Linked DNA regions of Homo sapiens: region 2 is linked to region 1. The links are contacts of gene promoters, found by promoter capture Hi-C in blood cells and fetal thymus (Javierre and others, 2016). All regions are on one chromosome and are shown on one strand. Each heading gives the region's core, a stretch centred on a gene start or on the middle of the fragment in contact. The rest is flanking DNA. Distances are from core to core; before and after follow the strand shown. Region 1 holds the start of RGMA (repulsive guidance molecule BMP co-receptor a). Region 2 overlaps LINC01581 (long intergenic non-protein coding RNA 1581).

What was found. The method cuts DNA at HindIII sites, captures the fragments that hold promoters and counts their contacts. A CHiCAGO score of 5 or more calls a contact.
Region 2: a contact is called between a fragment that was not itself captured here and the fragment with the promoter of RGMA in region 1, in 1 of 17 cell types (megakaryocytes). The highest score is 5.8, in megakaryocytes.

What each region holds. Positions count from the first base shown.
Region 1 is chr15:93,086,400-93,093,045 of GRCh38, forward strand. It overlaps RGMA (repulsive guidance molecule BMP co-receptor a), which reads right to left and starts at 2,812. Exons shown (of 4, transcript NM_020211.3): 1 at 2,520-2,812. The coding sequence starts at 2,533. LOC101927025 (a long non-coding RNA gene) reads left to right here and starts at 2,815. Exons shown (of 5, transcript XR_007064769.1): 1 at 2,815-2,878. The HindIII fragment of the contact is 10,450 bases long and covers 1-6,646 here.
Region 2 is chr15:94,066,616-94,073,261 of GRCh38, forward strand. The region is part of intron 2 of LINC01581 (long intergenic non-protein coding RNA 1581); the gene reads right to left. It overlaps LOC105369203 (a long non-coding RNA gene), which reads right to left. Exons shown (of 4, transcript XR_002957694.2): 2 at 3,909-4,032; 3 at 154-313. Among named protein-coding and RNA genes, the nearest start is that of LINC01581, 38 kb to the right of the region's middle. The HindIII fragment of the contact is 572 bases long and covers 2,930-3,501 here.

The DNA of each region.
Region 1 (6,646 bases), core at 1,562-4,061:
ATGGATCGGTGACCGTGCCTTCTTTCATGTCTATACTGCATGCTTCAAGGCAGGAACAAATTTTGCAACCATACTTGGTAAAAACAAGCGCTAGAACTTAATTCATTTGGTAGCAAGGTTGTAGGGGGAAAAACGCACTTTAGACTCACAGAACACTGGCCATATCCCTTCTGCTTTCTGGCCATCAGTTTCTTCTGAGAAACTGAAAATACCAGCACCCATTCCTGCCTGCTTCCTGGGAGCAGCAAGCATCCCTGGAAGAATGGCTGAAAAACTCCCTGTCCCAGTGTCAGGGATGCTCAGTCCCTATTTATTTCATTTTGCAACTGCTCGTCTAAGAATTCTTGGGCTTGGCTTCTCACAGGGCTGCTGAAGAGCAAGGGATTGTATTAAAAAGGAGATTCTTGTGCCTTTATTGTCTATTATTACATACACTGGGAAGCAGCAAGTTATTCCTTGGAGGAGGTTTGTAAAAAGAGAAAGCAGGCAGAGGTTTCTTAGCAAAAGTCAAAGGTGCCCTCCTTGAATGAGATGCCAAGCTATTCTAAGACCTCGTCTGTCACAAGTCTCATGATGACATAAATACCTACCAATGGAGACACAGTTTGAGACAGCATGACGGGGCAGACCAGCCACCCACCATTTCATATGTCTATTGGAGAATGTAAGCAACTGTCTGACACCTGGGAGGGAAATAATGGAAGCAGGGTACTTGAAAAAAGGAGGCTAAGACCTCTTTCACTACCAGCACAGCCCAGAGAGTCTCAAGGGGGTACTACAGTAGACCACTACACTGCTCTACAAGGGGCCAGGGTGCCCTTCAGAACCGGGTGAGCCCAGCTCACTGCTAATATATTATCTGGCCTGGAAGGTGGCAGCAAAAACCAGCCACAGAGAACGTGGAGCCCGCCTGGATGTGTGGGTGCCCCACCCAGAGCCTTTGTCTGCAGAACTTGCCATCCAGCCACGTCTGCCCCAGTTGTTAATTGGAGATCATGTCCCTGTAAAGGGGGCTTGCTTGTCACTTGCTGTGGTAACAGCAAGAAACCCCTTCTTTGTATGTGCAAAAAAAAAAAAAAAAAAAACCACAAAACCCAGTTTGGGTACACTATTCTGTTCCTGCACAAATGGGCAGGAGGCCCTCTCCCAGTTCTCCTCCTGTTGCCCTTCGGAGCACAGTTACTCTCTTTTCTAGGGGTCATGGCTCAAAATCCACCCAAGAAATCACCCGTTTGTGATGCACAGGAGAAGACAGAGGTTTGTGCATTGGTTTTCAAGATCTCTGCACCAGATACCTGCGGAAGGGGCATCTTCTTACAGCAGTTAACATTTTATATTACGTTTTTGCTGGAAGAGTCTAAAACCAAACAGAGAAGGTGATGGAGCTCCTTTAGGTGACAGCATGCCACTCAACACGACCCGCAATTTCGTCCCCTGAGCTCAATGTGCTGAGCATGGGAGGTCGGGGTTCTCCCTGGTACCGTCGATACTCAGAGAGCTTCTGTAGCCTCCTTCCTGGAGGCGAGGGCTGGTTCCCGCCTCTCCACCTTGTGCGGGAGACTACTTTGAGAACACCCAACAACTTCGCAGCCTAAGAGGAATGCACAGCTCACCACTTCCGCTAGATGGCGCTACTTCCCCTACTCCGCCCGCGAGACACCCAATTTATAAAATAAATACAACCCAACACCTCCCAAAACCACACCACATAATAGCAGCTCACAGGCTCCCATTAGAAATCTCAATTTGGGAGAACTGATTCTACCTCCGAGCAAGTCTAATACAATTACATTAATAAGACGCAATCCCGAATTGCACCCGAGCGTCCCCCACACCCGCCCTCCCATTGAATACACCTGTCCCCCATGCCCGGGCTTGTACCCTGGGTTGAGCTGCGGCGCGAGCCGGCGCTGAATCGTCGCCGTGCCCTCCCGTCCACTTAGGAAAGCCGGGGCGGCTTGGCAATGGGCATCCTCGGCCCTCAATCCAAGGTCCGCACCTTCCCGTACGCCGGCGCGCCGAGGCAAAGGGCCGCCGGGACGCGAGCCCACGCGGTGCACTGCGCCGACATCCCCGAGGGCAGGAGATGGCCAGGCAGCTCCGCAGCCGGGCGTCGAGCGGGAGGCGGGGGCCCGGGCGGCGCGGGCCAATGGGGGTTCACGGCGGGACAGTCGGGTGGCCGGCTCCGTCCGGGGCTCCGCGAGCCGGGCTGAGGGAAGGAGCTCCCAGCCCGCACACGGTGTAAGGGACGTGTGCCGGGTCTGCCCAACCACGCGCGCTGGCGGCTGCCCGGGGGAGAGTATTTTAGGAAAAAAGAACAAACACCAAACCACAAAAACTTTCCTGCTGCCAACAGCTAAAGCGATAGAGGCGCAGCAAAGCTCCAAATGTGGGCAAGATGGGAGCAAGATGAGACGCGGGGCTAAGGAAGACCAAAGCAGCGCCGTGGCCCCGGCATGTGTCGGCGGCGCCTCGGAGATGTCAGAGCCGGGTCTGCCCGGCTCCCGACCCGCGCTTACCTTGGCGGCTGCATGAGCCCCTGCGGCCCGCGGGGGGTGGCGCTGGCGGGGCTGCGGGAGAAGAGGGGGTGTCGGGGCGCCGCTCGTCTGCCCCGGGGCAAGGTGGGAGGGGCTCCGCTGGCGCTGGTCCCCGCCGCCCCGGCCGGCTCAGCAGCGGCCCGGGGAGCGCCTCCTGCTCCCGGGCTGCATGCCTGCGAGCGCCTGGCGGAGCCGGCCCGGGAGCGAACGGCCAGTGCTTCCCCGGCCCAGCGGCTCGGGCGGCGCAGCCAGCGCTCGGGAGACAACTGCAGAGTGGGGCGGCCGGGACCAGCCCCCTCCCTCGCCCGGCCCCCGCCCGCCGCCGAGCGCGGCGTCGCGAGGTTCGTTTGCGCGCCGAGGGGAGGGGGCGGGCCGGGCGCCCGGGCCGCGGGCGGGGGGCGCGCGCGGGCGGGGCCGGCAGGGAGGGGCGGGGAGGAGCGGGGTGCGGGCTCGCGTTGCCCCGCCCCGCCGCGGCCCCACCCTCCCGCATCAGCACCGGCTGGGTGGGTGCGGAGTGCGCCAGCGGCCAAGTCAAGACTCCTTGAATGCTCAGGTTAGGGGGCGCGGGCGGCAAGTGCGGCGACTCCCCGGGGCGCCTCCAACTTTCCGAATCGCCCGCAGGGTTGCGGTGGAGCGCACGGTGTCCTTCAGTTAGGCGGTGGTCGAGGGGAGTTCCTCTGAGATTTCTGGAGAAGGCGGTTACATCCAAGACAAATGCTGTTGCGCTCTGCGGAGACGCACCTTTGTTCTATAGAGATTTTGTTGTTGTTTAAGAATCTTCCTGAAAAAACTAATACATATGTATTACATGCTAACACACGCATACATTCTTGCGTAGAATTGTACATAACTCAGGAGTGTCTAGAGTGAAAAGACCGTATCGCACTCCCTCCCACGGCCGCGGCTCTCCCACGGCCGCGGCTCCCCCGCGGTAACCTTCGGTCAGGGTGTGCTCTGCCGCGGTTCTTTCCAGTCTCTGCGCTTTTACATGCACACGCACAGATTGCGAGTGGAATCTCCTGGGCTTTTCAAAAGAATGTTTTCAACATTAAGCGCATGCACACAGTGGCTTGAACACGGCCACGTCGGGAGCAGTAAATCCCCAGAGGCTCCGGGAGCCCAGGGAAGGACCCTTGCTGTGAAACAGCAAAGAGCCACCCAATCGCCATGTGTGGATCTGAAACCCCAGCTGGAGCGTGAAGTCGGTCTGGTTACACAGCTCAGGCCCAAATTAGCACTGCACGGTTAGAGAGATTTGCCAGTACATTCTAGACAGGGTTATGACCTTCCCCTTCTTACAGAACAAACTGTCTTGAATTTTGATATGATGAGAACTCTGGATTTGCAAAATGAAAAGGTATCGTCCGCATTAAAACACGATCGTTATTTATGCGTGTGGTCTTCAGAGATGTGGTTTTAACTCAATATTCTCCGTTTTATTTGTCAAGTGTATTTGTATAATCTATAGCTGGGATATAAATAAAATTAAGTGGTTTAGCAGGAAGGGATTGGGGATGGGTTTCTAGAATTAGCTCTGACCTTCGGCAAGTCATCTAGCTCTGCTGGGCCTCAGTTTCCTCATCTATGAATAGTAGGGTGTGTGTGTGTGTGTGTGTGTGTGTGTGTGTGTGTGTGTGTGTGGTCTTCCTGCCCTGACATTCTGTGCCCTGACATTCAGTGAATAACCAATTTCTTCATCTTTCATAGCTCAGCTCCAACATCTTCCCCACCCTCTAGGGAGTCCTCACATCCGTGCCTTTCCTTCCTAACACTGAGCTCACTCGGTAATTAGGCGCTCATTAGAGTGACCTTTCCCTACATGTTGGCCTCTCCCACCGTACCATAAGCATCATGAGGGCAGGAACCAGGACTCCTTGGAGTCATCATTGCATTCCTAGCACTTAATATGGTGCCTGGCACACTACAAGAATCTCTGAATGACTGTCACGCAGATAGTAGATTTCTTACTGTTCTTCCAAATTGCCTGGCATTTTTAAAAGGTCTGTAAGTGGAAACGTGTCTTTTTAAAATGAGGCCTTTGGAAAGTAACCAGCAGGGTTTTCCCATGGTGGGGGACAAACAATCCACTGTCTAGATAAGGACAGACAATTCTCAGCTCAATCAAGGGCCGTGGAGGTAGCCGGTAACTATTTACCTTGATGAGTGCAGGCACCCGTGGAGAAGACAACGAATATTAATGCTACTCGTTAAGTACTTGGTTAAGTTAGAACCCTGCATAGGCAGTTGGAATACACAGAGTGCTCAGATTTAAATGAAGCCGTGAAGTGTGTTTAGGGTGCAAATTAAGAAATGGACATGCTTTCAACCAACAATCTAGAAACATTCCTAATATAAAGCTCCAGGGTATCCTTGGCTTTCTTTACTGCAAAGGGCCTGGATTCCTTAATATGAACAGGAAACAGGCTAACCTAGGTACAAGAGTTTAAAAAAAAGAAAAAAGGCCATTAAGAAACAAGGGGCGGGGTAAGTGAAAGTCTAAGTCAGTACAAGACTAATATCTATATTAGTTTCTTTTTTGTCTGATATGTAGATTTGCCGAGGGAGAGGTTAAAATCCGGCGTCACATTTATAGAGGAAAACTGGGGTTTCCACCCCTTCTTGGCCACTCTTCCTTTTCTTCCCTTTTGTGAGAGGGGATACATGCTTGCTGGGCGGTCGCCAGATCCACCTGGATGCCACCTGGTGTGAGAAAGCTCTCCTGGGATGCACCACACCCGGCGCAGGGAAAGCCTGTGCTACTGGGGTGCGGAGCAATTTGCTGTCTCTCTGTTGCCAGTGAGGGGTGGTGCCTACTGGGCAAGAGTGCGTCCTCGGAGCGTGGATTCATAGTGAAATTGACCAAGCAATGTGACAGTGAATTGGCCTTACTTTACTCAGGGTTGCCACTGGGGGCCATCCCTTTGGATTGGGTGCCCTGCCTATTACATTTTTCTAGAAAAATTCAGGTTCAAAAGTAAAAGGCACCTTAAAGAAAGAGCAAGTCAGCAACTGTCCTCGGAACCTACTGAGGAAGGACTGACTGACTCCCACCCTTGGCTTTAGTGAGCCAAGAACCGGGAGTAGGTGCTAGGACTTACTTGTTCTGCACAGACCAGAAGAAGCTGTGTTTCCTTCCAGCAGGGATGCCTCCCAGAGGCATTTGTGGCAAGCACTTCCTCCATGTCACGCACTGGGCTCGACGCTGCCGAGGGTGCTGACCTGAGGCACACAGCCCCTGTCCTTAGACGCTTGCAGTCTAGTGGGAGAAAGAAGGAGTAAATAGGCCTCGGTGGCTAGGGTTGAGGGGGCATTGCATAGCAGCTCCATTATCTGTCCTCATCAGCAACCCTCCGCGTAGAATTCTAATAAAACACAGCACTTGTGCAAATGCTACCTAAGGCCAGTCTCTGGCCTTTTCTTCCAGTCAGACTGCAGCTCAGAGGGTCCCAGAGACACTCTGGAGTTGACGCTGCAAGGTAGAAGCAAAGAAGAGACAAACGAAATCTAATGTGATGGGATTTAGGAGACGGATGGGATTATTTCTAGTTGGAAGGACTAGGAAAGTCTTTATGGACGAGGTGTCACTTGAGATGATCACTGATGGCCCATCTGATGGATCTGATTGTAGTGCGTGCTTGATAGGGAAGGAGGGAGAGCATCCTAGGCAGGGGAGTCACTTGCATAGGGGCACAGAGGTGGCAAAAGTTGGGCAAATTCAATAGGGAGTGTTGAGTCTGGTTGGAATGTGTGCACTGGAGAGATGAGGGAGGACAGGGTGTTGTGATTCTTATGGTTATGGGTTCTTTCTAATTTGGTCTTGAGGTCTGTCAAGAGTGGCCATAAGCCAAGACAGCCACTCTAGGAGAGCCCTGATTGGGAAAAGTTAGGTTTGGGTGTGTGGTTCAGGTGAGACGCAATGAGGAGGTGAATGTAAAATGCATGAAATAGAAGAAATATGTTACTTACAGATCCAGGAGAGGTTAGCGGTGCCAACGGGAGGCTGAAGAGGAAGTCTAGAGATTGCAGGGAGCTCAAACAGCTGGGAGAGGAGGGAATGAGAGAGAGACAGACAGACAGACAGACAGACAGGGAGAGATAGAGAGAACCTG
Region 2 (6,646 bases), core at 1,966-4,465, 980 kb after region 1:
AATGTATTCATTGTTGGAGGAATAACATTTCCCTGAATGAAGATGATCCTTTAACTACTTATTTTACCATGTTAAGTGTCAGTCTAAGTAGCTGTAACAAACAGCCTTCAAAATTCAGTGGACTAAATAAAATAGTTTATTTTTCTCTCTCACCTTTATCTAAGAGTTTGCCAGTGAGTCATCTTTCCAGGCTGATGGAGTAGCTCTTTTATCCTAAATCTTTCATATCAGAATCCAAGGTGGGTAGTCTGATTCTCTTCATTTCTTCACCAAAAGGAAATGAAAAGGAGAAAAAGTGGACAACAAGTAGTATCTTTAAAGGAAATTACATTAAAATTAGACACGTCACTTCTGCTCACGTTCCATTGGCAAGAACTCAATCATACTTCTAGCTGCAAGGGAGGCTGTGAAATGTTAGTTCAGCCTGAAAGTCAAGTGCTCTGATAAAAGTCACATGTTGTTTATAGGACGAAGCTTCTATTATAAAAAGGTCAGGACAATGGATTCTGGGGGGAAATTAACAGCCTATGACATGATATCCAAAACAAGATCTGAGGTATAGAGTCACAAAGTGGACTGCAAGATGAGGATTGCTTTTAGACTTCCATTCTCCCAACCTCAAGCTCCAGGCTGTCATCTTCTAACTTCTTTTCTCTTGTCAGGCTGCCTATGGTAGTCTTTTGAAATTGACCTTAACGGTATAAACATATTTAGGGAAACCCATGATTTGTGTTAACCCTGAAAGTCCCTGCATCTCAGGCTTATGAGAGAAACAAAAATATAGCTTGCTTTATGTGAGACACTCTGTTCAAGGGATGAAGACGTTTGTGGGAGTTGATCTAATCAGCAGAACAAAGTCTAACTGTCAAAGAAGAAACAAGTGAACCTTACACTTCAGTGTTCTCACACTGGCCCCTTCCTAGGCTCTAGGAGAAGCCATAGGAATGTGGTCAGAGGGTCTTGTCAGTGTTTAAATGTGTCAATATGAGGAAAATTCATTTTAGTTGTTTAAGACTATCATATCTTTGTGGCGGCAAGCCTGTGGGGGCGGGGGGCGGGGGCGGGGGGCGGTCTTGATTGTTTTAGTCTTTCCAAATGTCATCTCCAGGATGAAGCAGTTTTTTCTCTGCACCATAGCAGTCAGTGTCTGCTTCTTATGCTGTGAATGTGCTTGTCTTTCTCTCCCAGTGGTAAGCTACCAGAGGGCAGATGGGGATTTTCTTATTTGTTTTTTAATACTTGCAGATTTGATAGTGTCTGATACTGAGTAGGTGCTTGCTCATAAACATCCAACAGCATAGCTCCCAGAATAGGATCTGAGACTTCATACAGCACTCAAGTCTTCATTTTCATTTTTTGTTGAATTTCACTTAAATATTCACTTTCCCCCACCAACTGGTTGACTTAAAACCTCGAATGTCTATTACTACATATAAGAGGCAGAATATTGGCCCCAAAGCAGTCTACATCTCAATGCCTGGAACCTAGGAATGTGTTCCCTTACATGACAAAGGACTGCAGGTAGAATTAAGACTGCTGTAGTTGACCTTCATATAAGAAAATTATCTTGGGTCATACCAGTAGGCCCAGTGTGCGAAGCTGAAAGAGCCAACCCCTCAAGATGGATCCTGAGTGGCTAGCTGGGCCTGAATTTAAAATGGAGCCAAGCAGCCAATTGCTGACTAGAGGTCACCCACATACTCTGGCTCCTGAAGAAACCACATGCTCTTGTAACTTTGGGACTTTTATACCTGTCTGTTCCTGTTTATGCCACCTCAATCAATGGCAGCCAGAAAGCCCCATCTCATCACTTGGACCTAAATAATAGACTGTGACCTGCTTCGACCAATCAGAACAAAACAAGCTTCAACCAATCTGAACTAAACAAGCTTGCATCCCTCATTTGCATGGTGGACCAGAGTGGAAACCTGGGTGGGAACTTTCTCTGTAAAATTCAACCCCTCTTTTTATTCTCTCAGAACACACTTTGGTTTTATGTGGAAGGCTGCATCTCCTCATAAGCAAACTGCTTGATGAAATAAAGCCTCTTTCTTTTTTAAGAAAAATCCTTTTCGGTGTATATTGAATATGTTCCCTTCTATGACAAAGAGGATTTAAGGTTGCAGGTGGAATTAAGAGTGCTATTTTGCTGACCTTAACATAGAAAGATTATCCTGAATTATCCCAGTAGACCCAGTGTAATCACAAGGATACCTAAAGTGAAAGAGGAAATCAGAAAAAAGGCCCAGAGAGATGGCAGCATGGAAAAATGACTGCACCCAAAATTGCTAATTTTGAGGATGGAGGAAGGGGCCACAAGCCAAGGAATACAGACAGCTTCTTAAAACTGGGAAAGTCAAGGAAACAGATTATCCCCAAGAGCCTCCAAAAGGGACACAGCTCTGCTGACACTTTAATTTTAGCCCAGTGAGACCTATTTTGAAACTGACCTCTGTAACTGTTAGATAGTAAATTAGTGCTGTGTTAAGCCACTACATTTGTGTAATTTGTTACATCAGCAGTAGGAAACTAATATGATAAGCCTATGTAATATAAGTTCTTATTCAACTATGAATCGTACCTCAGAGTATGGCATTTATTGGAATCAGTTTTGAAAATACTTTTGAAATTAGTATAAGGGAAATAACTCTTAGTTTACCGGACAGTTTTCCCTTTGAGAGAAGCCTGGGCCTGCTCATAATTCAGTAGGCTTTGAATCCAGCAAGAACCCCCAAAGAGTTTTGCCTAACTCAATGAGAGAAAAAAGCCCCAATGGGTTGTAAGACTCAGCTAAATAACCTAAATAATCAAGTGCTCATTTGATGTCTTTCACTTTGTAAGCTTCCACTTGCTAATACTGCCTTGGGTTTGGTGTGTTGAGTATTTACATCCTCAGAAAGTCAAAACATCAGGAAAATAACATTTTCTAAGCTTGATATCCTGGATATTAATCAATGACAATAGATCTTTGGAGATGTGTACACTAACAAAATCTCTTCCCAAAGTCAAAAATCTTATTTAAGAGTGGGTCATTATATAAATAGTTTCTTGAAAAATTTCTACCTTGGGATATACATCTTCATTGTACCATGCCATTCAAAACAATAGTAGATAAGTTATCACAGCTTTTTAAAAAAAGTGTGTGTAGGGTAATTTTTTAGCTATTGAAAGGATGAATTTAGGAAGATTTTCTCTTACACTTGAGTGGGTTGCCTTTGCTCTTTCCACAGTCGTCTCTAAGGGTTTTAACAAAAGCAATAAGAAAAAGACTGATAAGACTGGCATCTAAGGAAGATCTCTCGGCCTTCTAATGAGAGGATATATCAAAAAGAGTGAGACAAAAAACAAGCAGAGTTAAAAGGTTGTAAAAACAGCCGCAGTAGCTACCAAGACGGGATACCCACGCCCTGGCACACTTTGCTGTCTCCAAGGAAACGGAACTATTTCCTGATCTCGACACACACTTATTGTGCATATTGTCTTTCATTGTATTAGACTGAAAGCTTTTCATGGATAAGATAATAAGCCTGATTTACCTACATTTCTATTTTATGTGCCAAAGTTACTACGAATGTGAGCAATACTACTGATCTCGGTTTTATTTTAAAGTGATTAGTATTTGCAGATTTGTGTCAATTTACATATTTATGGGGATGGTCATTTCAATCCTTTGGCTAGCCTGGAAATCCAAAGTAGAGTGGCAGATAAGAAAGGAAAGAACAGGAGAAAAAAAAAAGTAAACAAACGAACAAGGTTTTACTCAATTCTTCAGTCTTCCCAAGCCCTTTGGTTTTCCCACCTCTCTCCTGCACAGTTAGTAATACTTGACATTTATAGAGCTGCTTTCCAAACAAAGACCCCGGAAGGTTTAATGCACTGTGCTAGCAGGCAGAAGGGGAATGACTCACCCGCCGGGTGCAGGGCGCCACCTCTAGTGTAGAATGCGGCAGCTGGGACACAGCTGGTGGGTAATGAGTGCCCGGCGATGGCTCAGAACAGGAAGTGAAAAAGAAATCCAGGGTCTGGTGAAAGCTTCAAGGGAAACAGGAGGCAGCAGCGTGAAACACACCGGCATGTTGCTGCGGTGTCAGTCCCGCAAAACATTCAGACCCCCTTCTCAAGGGCAGAGGGAGGCATTTTCCAGCCTAGCGTAGCAAAGCATCGGTGGTCAGGAACTGGGTCTTCCTAATCAGCCCTGCCAAGTTGGAAGAGCGGCAGCTTAAAGAGATGGGAGCGCCATCCCTTGAAATGGCGGAAACAGGAAGCGGAGATGCCTCTGCTGTGGGGGACCGTGCCTTGGGTGGTGGGAACAGAAAAGAGGGACTGTCTTCCCACTGTACCTCAGTGTGCAGTATTGTACCCAGCAGATGAGGACAAAAACCATCACTTTTCACTTAAGGGTTTAAAATTAACCTTTGGTCAGTTCCAAATATTTTAAAGATTAGTTTCCTGGAGAGTTTGTCTCATGCCTGGAGGATTGAAACACTCTTTTCAATTTGTTCACTTTTGACATTTTTAGTGCATCTCCTTAAATTATATCCAGGCATGGAAATAAATGAGGATGAAGGCTCCAGGGCTTTCTGGTTTTGTTGCTATTCTTAGCAAAAGGTTTGAAGAAAATAAAGGGGCAAAATACTTCTGGTTCATCTGGGCCTGTGGAGCCCTTTGTGCTGATGCAAAGTTAATAGTAACTGTGATAAAATCGCTACAAATATGATAAATGTGAAGCCAACAAGAAGTCAAGAGTCACTGCTCTGAGATGACAGGCTCGGAGCAGGGTATGTGATGGAATGAAGTTTAAGCTCAGCTTAGGGATCTTTTCTTGAAGAGAGAGCAAATAAGGTTTCAGCGTGCATGCCATGTTAAGAAGGATTCTGAGACCACAGCTAACAGACTCAGCCCAAAGAACGACATGCAGAGGGGTGGACAGAGGCACTGTGCATCTGCAACCTCAGTGGGAACACGAGAGCGGAGACAGACATGGTTGCGGGTCATTTTTCTGAAACGCGTTATGGGCAGTTTCCTGAATTTAAAAGAAAAAACTTCTTATAATGTGACTCTAGGGTATGCAGAGTTTTTCTGGGACCCCCATAGTCAGCCCTTGAGATGAAGATGAAGACTCTTCAGCCTACCCCCTTGTATTGAGCCCCATTCTCTGAGACACTCACTGTAGGTACCTGGAACATCAGGGGTTCTATGAGTTAACGTGATCTGGGCTTGTTAGCAGTGTGGATTCTTTGAACCGGCCTCTGGGAGTGGAGCTGAGGATAATAACTAACTTTTATGAAGCATTTCCTATGTGCTAGGAAATGTTCTGGGAATTTTCTAAACATTAGCATTTGCACTCACTCCCCACCACACCCCATGAGGTAGACAATTTTATATTTATTTTATAACCTGAGACTTGCTGAGGTTAACTTCAAGCATGTGGCAGAGGGAGAATTCAAATCTAAGTCTGTCTGACTTTAAATGTAATTCTAATTGACATTTACACGTGTTTTCATTTAATTCTTGTTATAGTCCTGATATTATCTTCATTTCATGGATAATCACATTGAGATCCCCAAAAGATTAAGTAACTTGTTGAAGATGCTGTGGCTACTGCACGGCAAAGTTAGAATTCTCACGTTGTCAGGTCCACTCTGTGGCTCGGTTCTTAATGGTCATGATAAGTGCACACCCAACACCTTCCACTTCCTCATACGGCCTTTCACGTAAGGGAGAATTTTCACTTTGGGCATGGGAAGGCCTTTTGAATAAATTGCCTGAGAACTCTTCACATGTAATATGTACAGAATAAGGCCAGTATAGTCATCTTAGCAAAGGGGAGCAAGAGTGCTAGAAAATGACTTAGGGAGGGCACAGATTATGTAAATTTGTGTAGATCCTGAGAAGAAAAATTGTGAACAGAAATTTGTACTAAAGCGAGAAGATTGAATCTAGTAAAGGGCAGAATGATGGCCAACACGGTGAAACCCCATCTCTACTAAAAATAAAAAAATAATTAAAAAAAAATAGCTGGGCGTGGTCACACACGCCTGTAATCCCAGCTACTTGGGAGGCTGAGGCAGGGGAATTGCTTGAACCTGGGAGGAGAAGGTTGCAGTGAGCAAAGATTGCACCACTGCACTCCAGCCTGGGTCACAGTGTGAGACTCTATCTCAGAAAAAAAAAAAAAAAAAAAGAGATTAAGGTCTCAGAACTCTAGGCTCCAGAATTAACAGATCTATTATTTGGTCATCTGCTTATAGAGAGATAAGAAAGATTGAGAGATGGAAAAATAAAAAGGGTCTCATGACACGTCAGTGGAAATGGCTGATTTGACTAGATAAGCTAAGAAATAGGCCAACTAATTAGGAGAAAGCATGTTTGCATTATTTTCTTTAGATTGGAGGAAGTAGAGGAGTTTTATAAAAATATGGTTCTCAGGTCACCTGCATCAAAATCATGTAGGGTAACAGAGGGCTCCGTAAAATGTAGATTCCTGGGCCTTTTCTTACACCCACTGAGTCAGAATACACAGGTAGTGACCCTCAGCATCCCACAGGATTGGTCTGTGCTCTTGGACCTGTTTCACTTTAGGTAGGGGTTATGTTTTCAAGCTCTGAGATCAGGATGGATTGAGTTCCAGTCTACAATTTCACCA